Regions from separate parts of the Homo sapiens genome. Here region 2 is linked to region 1. The links are contacts of gene promoters, found by promoter capture Hi-C in human tissues and cell types (Jung and others, 2019). All regions are on one chromosome and are shown on one strand. The core of a region is centred on a gene start or on the middle of the fragment in contact, and the rest is flanking DNA. Distances in the headings are between cores, read along the strand shown.

The links. The method cuts DNA at HindIII sites, captures the fragments that hold promoters and counts their contacts. A contact is called where the count stands out against the background at its distance.
Region 2: a fragment that was not itself captured here is called in contact with the fragment with the promoter of MROH9 in region 1 in 2 of the 25 tissues and cell types used here (H1 embryonic stem cells and hippocampus).

What each region holds. Positions count from the first base shown.
Region 1 is chr1:170,933,144-170,939,868 of GRCh38, forward strand. MROH9 (maestro heat like repeat family member 9) reads left to right here and starts at 2,391. Exons shown (of 22, transcript NM_001163629.2): 1 at 2,391-2,444. The HindIII fragment of the contact is 10,538 bases long and covers 1-5,005 here.
Region 2 is chr1:171,171,736-171,178,460 of GRCh38, forward strand. The region is part of intron 2 of FMO1-AS1 (FMO1 antisense RNA 1); the gene reads right to left. Among named protein-coding and RNA genes, the nearest start is that of FMO2, 10 kb to the right of the region's middle. The HindIII fragment of the contact is 6,992 bases long and covers 1-6,016 here.

The DNA.
Region 1 (6,725 bases), core at 1,141-3,640:
AAAAAAAATTACTGGGCCAGGTGCAGTGGCTCACACCTGTAATCCCAGCAATTTGGGAGGCCAAGGCGGGTGGATTACGAGGTCAGGAGATCGAGACCATCCTGGCTAACACGGTGAAACCCCGTCTCTACTGAAAATACAAAAAAATTAGCCACTGTGGTGGCACGCACCTGTAGTCCCAGCTACTCAGGAGGCTGAGGCAGGAGAATTGTGTGAACCTGGGAGGTGGAGCTTGCAATGAGCCGAGATTGCGCCACTGCACTCCAGCCTGGATGACAGAGCAAGACTCCGTCTCAAAAAAGAAAAAGAAAATTACCAACTGAGAATTCTATATTTGACCAAACTATCCTTCAAAAAAAAAGAAAGAAAGAAAGAAAGAAAGAAAGAAAGAAAGAAAAGAGAAAGAAAGGAAGGAAGGGAAAGAAAGAAAGGAAAAATTAAGTATTCACAAATAAAGTAAGATTGTTTTTCTAGCAGATCTGCCCTACCAGAAATACTGAAGATATTGTCTCACGCTGAAATAAAAGAATACTAGCTAGTCACTCAAGTCTACACAGAGAGCACACTCATAAACTACAGAGGTAGAATAAAATTATTTGGTTTTGTTCTCCTATTATGTTTAAAAGAAAACAGCTTAAAGCAATAATTATAAAACTGGGTTGGTGGGATTATAATGTTTAAATATATGTATGTATAACATGAATATATATAATGTGCATGGCAATAATAGCAGAAAAAATGAAGGAGGAAACCAGGTATACTGGAGCAAAACCTTTGTATGTTATTGAAACTAAATTGATATTAATTCAAACTACATTGTTTTAGGCTAATGTTATAATTGTGACCCTAGAACAAACAAAGTTTGAAAATTCACACTTCTTGATTTCAAAACTTACTACAAAGACACAGAAATCACCACAGTGTGCTACCAGTATAGGAAAAACATATAGATTAATGGGATAAAATTGAGTTCAGAAATAAACCATTTTAGTCAATTCATTTTTTACAAAGATGTGGAGACAATCAGGAAAAGAATCATCTTTTTAACAAATTGTACTGAGACAAGTGAATATCCAGATGCAAAAAATAAGATAAAATTAGACCTCTACCTCACACTATATACTAAAACTAATTCAGAATGAACCAAAGACCTAAATGTAAGGCAAAAACTACAAAACTCTTAGAAAAGTTCTAAATCTAATCTCTGTGAAGTTGGGCCAGGGAATGCAGGCAATGTCTTTTTCTTTTTTTTTAGTTATGATACCAAAAACACAAGCAATAAAAGAAAAAGAATGGCAAATTTAAATTTCACTTAAATTTAAAACTTTTGTGCTTCAAGAGACACTGTCAAGAAAATGTAAAGGCAGCCCATAGAAAAGGAGGAATATTTGCAAATTATGTATCTGATAAGAGACTAGCATCTAGAACATATTAAAAAATCACAACTCAGTAATAAAAATCCAAACAGTCTAATCATAAAAAGTCACATATTGTATAAATCTATTTACATAAAATGTCCAGAAGGCAGACAGAAGATTAGTGGTTGCCAGGTACTTGGGGGAGAGGGAGGGTGAATGTCTGCTAACAGGTACAGGGTTTCTTTGGAGCTTGTTCTAAATGAAAATGTTCTAAAATTAGATAGTAATGATGGTTGTATACCTCTGTAAATATATTTAAAATGATTGAATTATATACTTTAAGATAAATTTTATGGTATGTGAATTATATTTTAATAACTCTATTATAAAAAGTGCTACAATAAACATCCTTCATGTCTCTCAGTGCATCAGTTGTATACATGTTTATACACTCTATGGACCTAGAACTGGAAATTCTGGGTTGTAGATTTTCAGTTTTGCTAGAACTTGACAAGTTTCTCTACAAACTAGTTATATCCATTTATAATCCCACCAGTCGTGTGAGAAAGTTCAACTTTCTTTTATCTTTGCCAATATTTGAAATTATCTTTTTTTAATTTTTACTTGTATTTTAGTACTTTTTAACTTATTAGCTGGGAAATAATATTTTAATGGTTTGTATTTTCATAACTTCAAGTGAGATTAAAAATCTTTTAAAATATTTATTGGCCATTCAGTTTTCCTTTTCTGTGAATTTTCTATTCTTATCCTTTGCCCAGCTTCTACTGGACTGTTGGTCTGAAGAACTATCTTTCAGTGCTTGTAACATAGAAACCAGAAACTTACCCACCCCTCAATAATGACAGGTGAGCATTAGTAGCCACTTGGGCATGCCAGGACATTCTACCACATTCATTCCAGAATGGAATCTTTGAAACATATGGTTGCCATGACGAGTGTCAACATTTCAAAGAATTTGCTTGGTTGATAACTACCTAGAGTATTTTACCTTTGGCTAAGAGGTAATATACTAGAGTTTCTCTTCACTACTTTGTCTCACCGTGATTACAGAGAAGTTACAAATATGTAAGTGAATTCCTATTAATATTTCTGTCATTCAAAAGCTTGTCTTTTTTTCTAATCCTGACTACTTTTCTTAATTTTTGTTCTGTTAAGAAAAAGAACCATGAATACATTAGAAAATTACGTTATGGCCCAGGTATGGTGGCTCACACCTGTAATCCCAGCACTTTGGGAGGCTGTGGGCGGATCATGAGGTCAGGAGGTCGAGACCACCCTAGGCAACTTGGTGAAACCCCATCTCTACTAAAAATACAAAAATTAGCTGGGTGTGGTGGCGGGTGCCTGTAATCCCAGCTACTCAGGAGGCTGAGGCAGGAGAATCACTTGAACTCGGGAGGTGGAGGTTGCAGTGAGCCGAGATCATGCTACTGCACTCCAGCCTGGCAACAGAGTGAGACAAAAAAAAAAAAAAAAAAAAAAAAAAGAAAAGAAAAAGAAAATTACATTACTATGGGCCCTCATCCAGAAATCTTGCCAAAGTTGGCAATTGGAAGAATTTGTCTTTATTCATTAATCTCCTAACTTCATGCCTTACTAGTAAGGATTATCTTATTAGTAAGGATGAGAGAAACCACAACTATATAGATAAATATATTTATTATAAGGTATTGGTTTACACAATAATAGAAGCTAGGAAGTCCTGGATTCTGCTTTCTGCAAGACAGAGACCCAGGAGATCCAATGGTGCAGTTTGAAGGCCTGAGAGCAAGAGAGTTGATGATAAAAATTCCAGCCTGGTTCTGAGGATCTGAGAACCAGAGCACCGAGGGCAGCAGATTTGTGTCCCAAGTCAAGTAGTCAGGCAAAGAGAAAACTAAGCATTCTTCTGCCTTCTTGTTTTATTCAGGCCCTCAATGGATTGGAAGATGTTGACCCACATTAGGGAGTGTCATCTCCTATCATCAGAACACCAATTTAAATGCTAATCTCTTCTGGAAATACCCTCACAGACATACCCCAAAATAATGTTTACCAGATATCTGGGCATCCTATGGCTCACTCAGTTTGACACGTAATATTAACTAACCATAATGAGTTCCCACGTTGAAAATTTGGCACCCATATACATATCCTTAAGCCATAGTTAATCTCCAAATAAAGTCAATAAGAAGCTCATAATTCCATTTAACATGTTGAAATGTAGTGGGATTGATAAGGAATCAGAGAGACCGATGGGGTTGAGAAGGATATTTATTATTTAGGTGCACCGGCCCAGTTGGATTAACCTCCAAAGGACTGAGCCCTGAACAAAGAGTTATCTTTTAATCATTTCGTGGGGTGGGGGAGATCTGTGTAGGGGGAAGCATATTACAGAAGTGAGAAACAAAGACAGTTATTCAATTAATTGAAACATGCATTACATCATTTCTTACTTTTCAAGGAAAAACATGTTTTATGACTTGAGTTTATCTGTCTAGTGACCTTGCAGCTGCACAGCTAGAGAAACAGGGTCTTCACAATGCCTGGGAAAGGAGGAGAGATAAGGCTCACTAGCCACAGAAAAACAGGCAGTTAATTTTAAAGGACTCCAGCTCTTTCTCTTTCTCTGGGGAATTGGGTTTTCTTACATACAACTGAGTTTCTGCTTACACATTCTTTAATTTCTTTTAATTCCTGTTCCAACATATGTCCTGCATACAACTGAAAATGCACTAAACCCTTCTCAGAGGAGGAGATAAAGTCCTTCAGTGATGTTTACTCTCTTCCTTGATGTCCTGTAACTTAAACACTATGATGTAACATTAACAATACTTAAATACTAGAATATGAAGTCATTGCATTTTGTATTATGTGATAAGAGAATAAGAAAAGAAAAAATATTTGGTATCTAATATATACACAAAGAAATGTATTCAGAACAAAATTAAAAGGAAATACTCATAATTATTACAGTCTTCATTTCTGCACTGATCACAGCATCATAATCAGTATTTTTTTTTTTTTTTTTTTTTTTTGAGACGGAGTCTCGCTCTGTCGCCCAGGCTGGAGTGCAGTGGCGGGATCTCGGCTCACTGCAAGCTCCGCCTCCCGGGTTCACGCCATTCTCCTGCCTCAGCCTCCCAAGTAGCTGGGACTACAGGCGCCCGCCACTACGCCCGGCTAATTTTTTTTGTATTTTTAGTAGAGACGGGGTTTCACCGTTTTAGCCGGGATGGTCTCGATCTCCTGACCTCGTGATCCGCCCGCCTCGGCCTCCCAAAGTGCTGGGATTACAGGCGTGAGCCACCGCGCCCGGCCCATAATCAGTATTTTTAACTCCCTTTTTCTACTACACATTCTGTAGTTTCTTTGCCTTCAGTAAGCACCTCAGCTGCTTGTGGTTCTTTACCTGCTAAAGTGATCCATAAAGGTCTGGGTCACTAGTAGTCCTACCTGCACTGGGTGGTTGTAGTTTTCCATTGATCTTAATCACAGGACACAGTAATACTAAGAGACACACTAAGGGATCTTTTGTATTGCAGACATACTCTTCCTTGCCTCCATTATGGAATAGTAGCCCAAGTTCTCTTTGGTAGTGTGGATCAGTCAGTCCAACCAGCACCATAACTCCCTTCTTAGCCTGTTGACTCAGAAGCACAAGGAGACCAAGGTGGCCAGGTGGCAGTCTTAACTTCCAGTTCAGTGGAATTATTGTCGTGTCCCCTGATGGAAGAATTCTTCCCTCCAGAACTGAGATCTCTAAGCCAGCAGAGCATAATGCCACAAGAACAGGAAGCTAGTGGGACACTAAGGATAATAGTGAGTGGTGCAACTCTATTTTCACCCCTTGATCCCTAGACCCAGGAATCCTGGTTATAGGAGAAATAGCACTATAAATTGAACATATTCAGAGCATATTCAGTTTTCCGGAGAACCTTGCCCCAGCCCTTCCAGGTATTGACATCTAGCTGATGACGTAACTGAGTCTTCAAAAGGTCATTCCACCGTTCCATCAAACAAGTGGCTTTAGGATGGTGGGGAACATGGTAAGACTAGTGAATTCCATGAGCATAAGCCAATTGCCCCACTTCTTTGGCTGTGAAGTGAGTTCCTTGATCAGAAGCAATGCTGTGTGGAATAACATGATGGTGGATAAGGCATTCTATAAGTCCACAAATGGCAGTTTTGGCAGAAGCATTGCATACCTGGACGGCAAATCCATATCCAGGGTAAGTGTCTATTTCAGTAAGGACAAAATGCTTCCTCTTCTATGATGGACGCAGTCCAATGTAGTCAAGCTGCCACCAGGTAGCTGGCTGATCACTCTGGGCCACATCAAGGACTCAGTGTTTTTCTCTGCTACTGGCATATTGGCCACTCGGTAGTGGCCACAGCTAGGTTGTCCTTGACAAATAAAAGTCCATGTTGCTGGACCCATACATAATTTACATCCCTGACACTATGGCTACTTTGCTCATGAGCCTATTGGGTGATGACACTAGTGGCTGAAGAAATAGCCTAATTGGTACCTACAGAATGGGTCATCCTATCTGCTTGATTATTAAATAATCCTCAGCAGAGATTGCCCTTTGGTGAATATTTACAGGGAACACAAATATCTTCAAACTTTTTGCTAATTCTGAGATGTCTATCCACTTATCTCTTCCTCAAATTTCTTCATCAATTTTCCAATCATGTTCCTTCCAAGTTTCTGACCATCTAGAAAAATCACTGGGCACAGCCCATGAATCAGTATATAATCACACATCTGGCTATTTCTCCTTCCAATCAAAGTAAAAAATCAGATTCAGTGCTCGAAGTTCTGCCTACAGGGAGGATTGCACTGCTTGGGGTTTTGCCCACTGGGAGTATTTCTCTTGGCCATTGTCCTTCAGAGATGTCCCAAAAGGGGGCTATAGGGATACAGTCATCCACTTTCAAGTTGTGCCTGTATATCATGTAGAACCAACTGTAAACCAGGCTGTTTTCTTCCTCTGTCAATTGATCATAGGGAACTCCCCATGAAGCCATAGTTGCAGGCTAATAAAGAGAAGGCAGTGTAGTAGGAGGAAGGATCACTGGCTTTTGGCCATTTCTTTATGTAATTTACTTGTGCCTTCAAGACCTGCTCAGGCCTGATCACACATATATATCACTTCCATTTGATGATGGAGTACTGCCGTGCACACCCAACTTTATGGCTTGGTGGGTTGGATAACACCCAGTTCATGATAAGCAGCTCAGATCACATGGTAACTTGGTGCCACGTGGTCAAGCATTCAGTCTCTACTAAGGCCTAGTAGCATGTCAAGGGCTGTTTCTCAAAAGAAGACTAACTATCTGCAGAGGAGAGTAAGGCTTTGC
Region 2 (6,725 bases), core at 1,271-3,770, 240 kb after region 1:
AATTATTTAAAGTTGATTATTTTGAGAAACAGCAGACACAAGAGAAGCTTTGAAAACAGAAGTTATTCTTTTGTAAGGAAAATTTATATCTATAAAGGAAATCTTCATTTGTAAGGGTATCTCCCTCTCTGTACCAGGAAGAGAAGGATTACTTAATCATTAGAAATTCTTATCAGTGGAAAAGTCATCAGCAAAAATCTGCATAATAAACCTTGTTCTTGTTTAACAGGCCTTTCTTGGCATAATTTTTTTCTTGTCATAACTGAGTCTCTCTCACATACTTCTTTGTATCAGGGAACCATGGTATTTAAGCTCGAAGTCAAAGCCACCTGTTTCAGATCTACTCCAGAGAACTCATTTTTCCCTGAAAATGTATAGATAAGATATACATGTAATTAAACTTCTGTTTTTCTCTTATTAATCTTTTATTACAAAGGTCTGTCCCAACTAAGAACTCATGCAGGGTAGAGAGAAAATCGTGTTTCTTCACCTACAGCTCATTAAATGACTCAAAACAATGTTTAAATAGGAAACCAATGGGGTGTTTAAGCAGGGAAGTAGCAAAAATTGATTTAACAGTATAGGAAAATACTTTTACCTTCAAGGCAGAGAATTTATTATAAATGGGAAAGACTACAAACAAGAACACCAGTTGAAAAGCCACTGCAACAATCTAGGCCTGATTTCAATAATTCAGAACTTATGACAATTTTGACAAGAACATGGCTGAAGTGTCCCTTTATTTTATCTATAAAAGGGATATTTCATGAACACTTAGCACTATAAACAAAATTGTAAGAGAAAGCTTAAACTATTATACAACACAAAATATTTTAAATACCGTGGAAGCAATCACATTCCCACAATTAATGTACTAGTTATAAACTATTACGTACTTTTGAAAGTATGTTCTTGAAAGACTTTCACTGGGCAAGAACTTGTTCAGTAGTTCAAGTATGTGCAATACCTGGCACACAATATGTACTCAATAAATATTTACTAAATAAATCCATACACTCATCATTTCTTTAAAAATAGCACCCCATTCAGATATCACACCAATTTACTGGCTTTACCACCTCCACCTACCACCCTGCCTCCAGTTACTATGGAAAAAAAGTCTTCTATCCATAACATATTCTCATAGAATATGAGCTACAATCCTAGTATATAAATATTTTAAAATAGACCGGAAATTATCTTTGACTTATAAAATTAAACAACATAATTTTAAATCACACAAAATATAGTAGGATTAAAGTTATGAATGTATCTGCAGAGAAGCCAGCAAAAATTCAAGTTGTTTGTTTTCCTAAACATTAGTCATATTGGAAATGTGTTGTGTTAAAAGACAAAATTACAACAAATCTAGTTTTGCAGGCGTTAATTGGCCTTTATTTGTGACTTTAGAATTGAGCAGCAGTTCAGTCCAAAAATGGCTCAGAATGTTCCACCCCACCAAATGTGTAGGTTATATTTGTAACTAGAGAAAAGGAAGTGACATACAGAAAACTGCACTGAGGTACAGAGATAGCCCAATTGGTTATAGTTCACATCTGTCTTATTTGAACATGGTTTGAAGAATTGGCCATCTGTGATTGGCTGAGATTCTGTTCCTAAGTTAGGTTTTCAGTTTGTTTAAGTGCTGAGTTGGGCTGCATTTAGGAACTCACACATAGGCCTCCTTGGGCCCACTTTTAATTTGTTTTAATAGTTGTTCATGTGATTTAAAGGATTTGATTAAACACAGTAAAGAACTTCCTGGTAGTGAGGACAGCTAAAAGAATGAGTGATAAAGAGAAATTTAGCATCTCCCTCTCTAGGAAGCTGTATAAACACACTAACTCCTTATAAGTCTCAGTAAATTTCTATGTAAAATTCATAATGTCATGGGTATAGTTTGAGCTAAAATTTACTTCTGCTAACTATAACTTCTGTTTTTAAGTTTGCAGAGTAAATAAATTAAGTGAACAATATTTTGATGGGGGAACTTAGACTACTGAAGAAAACAAAATGCAATCTGGTACTATTTTAACATAAAATCCGTACAATTAAGAAATATAACAATTATAAATAATTACTTCTTTGCAAAGAAAGTGCTCCCGAAGGTCCTCACCACACCTGAAAGTAATCATACTGCATTTATTTTTAAATAAATCATTATTCAAAGCTTTCACTAATTTTCACTGACATCCTAAAAGGTAAATACTAGTCAGTCTCTTTACATTTTGTTTGTTTGTTTGAGATAGACTCTTGCTCGGTTGCCCAGGCTGGAGTGTAGTGGTGCAATCTCAGCTCACTGCAACCTCCACCTCCCAGGTTCAAGCGATTCTCCTGCCTCAGCCTCCCAAGTAGCTAGGACTACAGGCGCACATCACCACACCGGGCAAAATTTTATATTTTTAGTAGAGACAGTGTTTCACCATGTGGGCCAGGCTGGTCTTGAACTCCTGGCCTCAAGTGATCCTCCTGCCTCAGCCTCCCAAAATGCTGGGATTATAGGCATGAGCCACCACACCTGAATAATTCTTGTATTTTTAGTAGAAACGGGGTTTCGCCATGTTGGCCATACTGGAGTCTCTTTACAGTAAATTCAAAAAGTATCATAAAATAAAACTAGTTTACATTAGAAACAGTAAAAAAGCATGTAAGCAAGTCAGAGTACTGGCTACTAGAAAGTAATTTCAAATACTAGCTATTTAAAGGACCAGGCACCATTGAAAAGGATTGATGCAATATAAAGAGACAGGTGAGATTTAAAAGGAGAGACTACATTTTAAAAGTTGGTCTTTGAAATGCATAGCTCTGAGTGAGAAAAGAAAAGGCAAAAAGAAGGAAGACAAGCCCTGTGGCAATTTGGCAGTGAAGGGAGAAAGAAGAAAAAAAGGAAGAAAAAAATTAGGGTCCTATAAGACAAAAAAAGAACCATAAAATTGGAGGATTCAAAACCCTTCCCCAATCATCATCATTAAAACAAACAAACAAAAGGAAAACTGTTAAATATCTGAACTTTTCTACTTTTTCAGAAGAGGGCACCACTAAATAAGGAATCTGGTAAAATATCCTAATTTCATAAAAACAAATAAGATAAAGATAAGCTATGTCCAGAGAGATAGGAGAGAGAGATGAAAACAAGAAAAGAAGGAAGGAAGGAAGGAAGGAAGGAAGGAAGGAAGGAAGGAAGGAAGGAAGGAAGGAAGGAAGGAGGGAAGGAGGGAGGGAGGGAGGGAGGGAGGGAGGGAAGGATGGAGGGAGGGAGGGAGGGGGAGGAGAGGGGAGGGGAGATGGGGAGGAGAGGGGAGGGGAGATAGGGAGGAAGGAATCAAAAGGTTTTCTAGAGATCCACTGGGAGAATTCTGTTTATACCTCACTGGTCAGAGTGGAGATTGCATGGTGACTTCTAAGTACAAGGGCATCTGAAATAACGATAAATAATTTTTCCCAGCCTATAGTGGAAGGTAAAAAGAGAAAAATGAACTTGGAAACTTTTGGGTAACCAATAAACAGTATGTGTCATACCTCTTCTGTAACTGAAATATATTACTTCCATGCTCACACTTTATTAGTAATTCAGCTAAATGTAAAAGTATAAGCTGAAAATGATACTACCTTAGACTTTTAAAGTCATTGCCCCATTGCCTTCGAGCTTCAATATTGTTAAAAGCCCATTGTTCATTCTACTTCCTGTCCTTTATATGCGACTTGTATTTCCTTTTCTGAAAGGTTGTGGAATCTCTATCTCTGGGGTTCTGAAATTTCTTGGTGAATTGCCCTGGTTTTGAGTCCTTTTTATATTATCAGGTCTGGAACTTTACCAGTTCAATTTCCACAAAGATCAAACCTCCAGTCTCCATCCAGGATGAAGGAAGGTCAGTCTCATAGTTGTTTGCAGAATGAGGATGAGAAATATCCATTTCATAAAAAGACTTTCAACGAATTCCTCTGTCATGTCCCATTACCAACATCTTTGCAGTTCCTGATGCCTCCAATCACTCACTAAGCTATCTTAAAATCATCTGGCATGCATTCACTTTTTTCATGTTAGCATCCCATTCGCAAGCCCTTGGTGTTAGCATTCTCTTTTCTGATAATTCATCAACTCACTTCTCATCTTCAAATAGTGTGTTGACATTTCTTCTCACTGTAATCTCAATCTCTTACTTCATTTATCCTCTAAGTTTATGCCTTTTAAAATACTCTTTCGTGGGATTTCAAGTGGAAGCAGAGGAAAATGTGTCTTCAGTCCACCATATTTAATCTGAAGTTCTCTCAATTTCAGCTGTAGTGTAAAGAATGAATTGGTAGGGGGAGAGCTAGAAGTGGTTGGAGTGGGAAGGTGGTGGTGGGTCAAGACTGAGAGGGAGGAGACAATCAAGACTTCTAGTAAGAAGTGGTGAGTATCTGAACCATGATAGTAGCAGGAAAAATAGAGATAAGAGGACAAATTTGAGACAAACTAAATTGATAGAAGAAACTGGAGTTGATAAGTGTCGTAAAGAAGTCCAAGAGGTACAGCACATAAGAGGAATTTCTGTAGGTTACATTTCAATAGTAGCAACAGTGAGCTTTAACTCCTGGCTGGGGTAATCAGAAAAAATGGGTGAAATTTGATAGATGGAGATGGAGGCAGGGCATTCTAAGTTAGATGATTAATCATGAGCATTTATTTGTAACAAGTGTTTTGTGAAGACTAGAACTTAGAATGTTCTGAAATTGAAAAACTTTTATTTTGACAAGCACAATTAGTGTGTGTCTTCCTGAGTGGGGAACTGTGATTTGCCTTTTGGGCATATCTTCCCTTTGTTCCTTCCTCTATCATTTCATTAATGACCATGTAAGACAAGTGCTCAGACATTTTACTTAGGCAAGCCTGAAATCAGAGAATCAACCCAAATGTCGATGCTTTATTGATCATGGGCTAACAATAAGTGTTGTGTTTGTGCTATTGTTTTAAGTTATATGTTCTCATGATTCAAAAAAAAATTTAAGTGAAAAAAATCTTACGTTCACTCCCAGCCTCTATCTGCCTAAACACTGCCTTCTTCTTTTCAGTTCCCACCCCCTGATCCTCTCAAGTGTCCACTCTTACTAATTTCTTGAATATTTTTCAGATTTATGCAGATATGAGAAAAATAAATTGTATTTTCCTTTTTACACAAAGCATAGCATTGTGTATATGCTGTTCTGTATCTTACTTATTTAATAATATACCTTGACAACTAATATATAGAGAGCTGTGTCATTCTTTTCAAAGCTACATGTTATTCAATCATAGAGATGTACCATAAGATATGGAACCAATATTCTATTGATGGACATTTTGTTAGTTTTTGGAGCGTTGATGGAAAATTCCCCTCTGCTCTCTGAAGATTTGCTAAAAATCTACTGACAAAAGGCATATTGATAGAAGAAAATGTACACAAATTTATTAACTTCCACAGGAGTTGGGGTAAAAATCACATGATTATCCCAGCATGCAATGGGGTACGGATGCTTATATATCCCTTCCTTAGGTGACAGGGAGATGAGAAAGTGTGGATTGATTTTAGGGTGACTATGAAATGATCTCTAGGGGACCCAACGGGCTTGAAGAACATACAATGGCCTGGAATAAAGTATGTTGGGCCCGCAGCGCAAACAATGGCTTATGACAAGTCTGTCTAGGTGTGTTGACAGAATTCTTTCTTCCTGCAGTATGAGTTCAGTTAATGAAAACTCAGGGAAGGTACCAAAGGTAATTGATTTCTTCTTTGGCAAGTCTAGACTTTAGGCAAATAAGGGAACTGCAGAGAACAACTTCACCCTGTTTTTTGGGAGAGCTTTGGGGGATACAGAGGATTGAGATACAGGAAGAAAGGGAAGGTCAGAGAGATCCTGAGTCGTCTTCTTCAGTTCAGCATGTTAAAGTGCCATATTTTGGGGTATTGGTTTCTAAGTCCCAAAATTTTCAATCTTATTTGGCTTCAGTGAATAACCTTACACATGAACCAGTTCACACACATTCAACTGTATTTGTAAAAAGCAAATATTTTAAGGAATAAAAATTGAGTGTTTTAGCAAAACTATAATCATGAAGACCCAGTAAAATGTTTAGCCTTGTTTTTCTATTTTCTCATAAATCTGGAGCTAGACCAATGTATGCTTAACACCAGTTTTTGAGTAACTTCTGTGAGTTTGTGTTTACTTATAATTTAACTTCCAGGATACTAAAGTAGAATTGAGAGCACAGCTAAAGAAATATGCAGGAAGTCCTCTGAGAGAAGAATGGGGTAGAATGATATTGGCCTTGGCAGCACAATATGCCCCAACTGTTGGAGTCACCCACATGGTGTTGAGGCTTTCTAACTCCAACTTTGGGATATCTCTACTGTCATTCTAACAGTCTACCAGTTTTTTGTTTTGCTTCACTTTGTTTTGTAGAGATGGGGTCTCACTATGTTGCCCAGGGTGGTCTCAAACTCCTGAACTCAAGCAATTCTCCTGCCTAAGCCTCCCAAACTGCTGGAATTACAGGCATGAGCCACTGTGCCTGGTGTACTGTTATTCTATTATATTCTCATCCTATTAACCTATTATTATGTTCTGCCCTGACCATACAGACCAAAGATATTCTTTATGAGAATGGATTTTCCCTGAAGAATATTAAATTCTCATTATCAGCTGAATGGAGAATGGGATAATCCTCAGGCAGTACATGAGGTGGACATTGGTGAACTTGGTCTCTG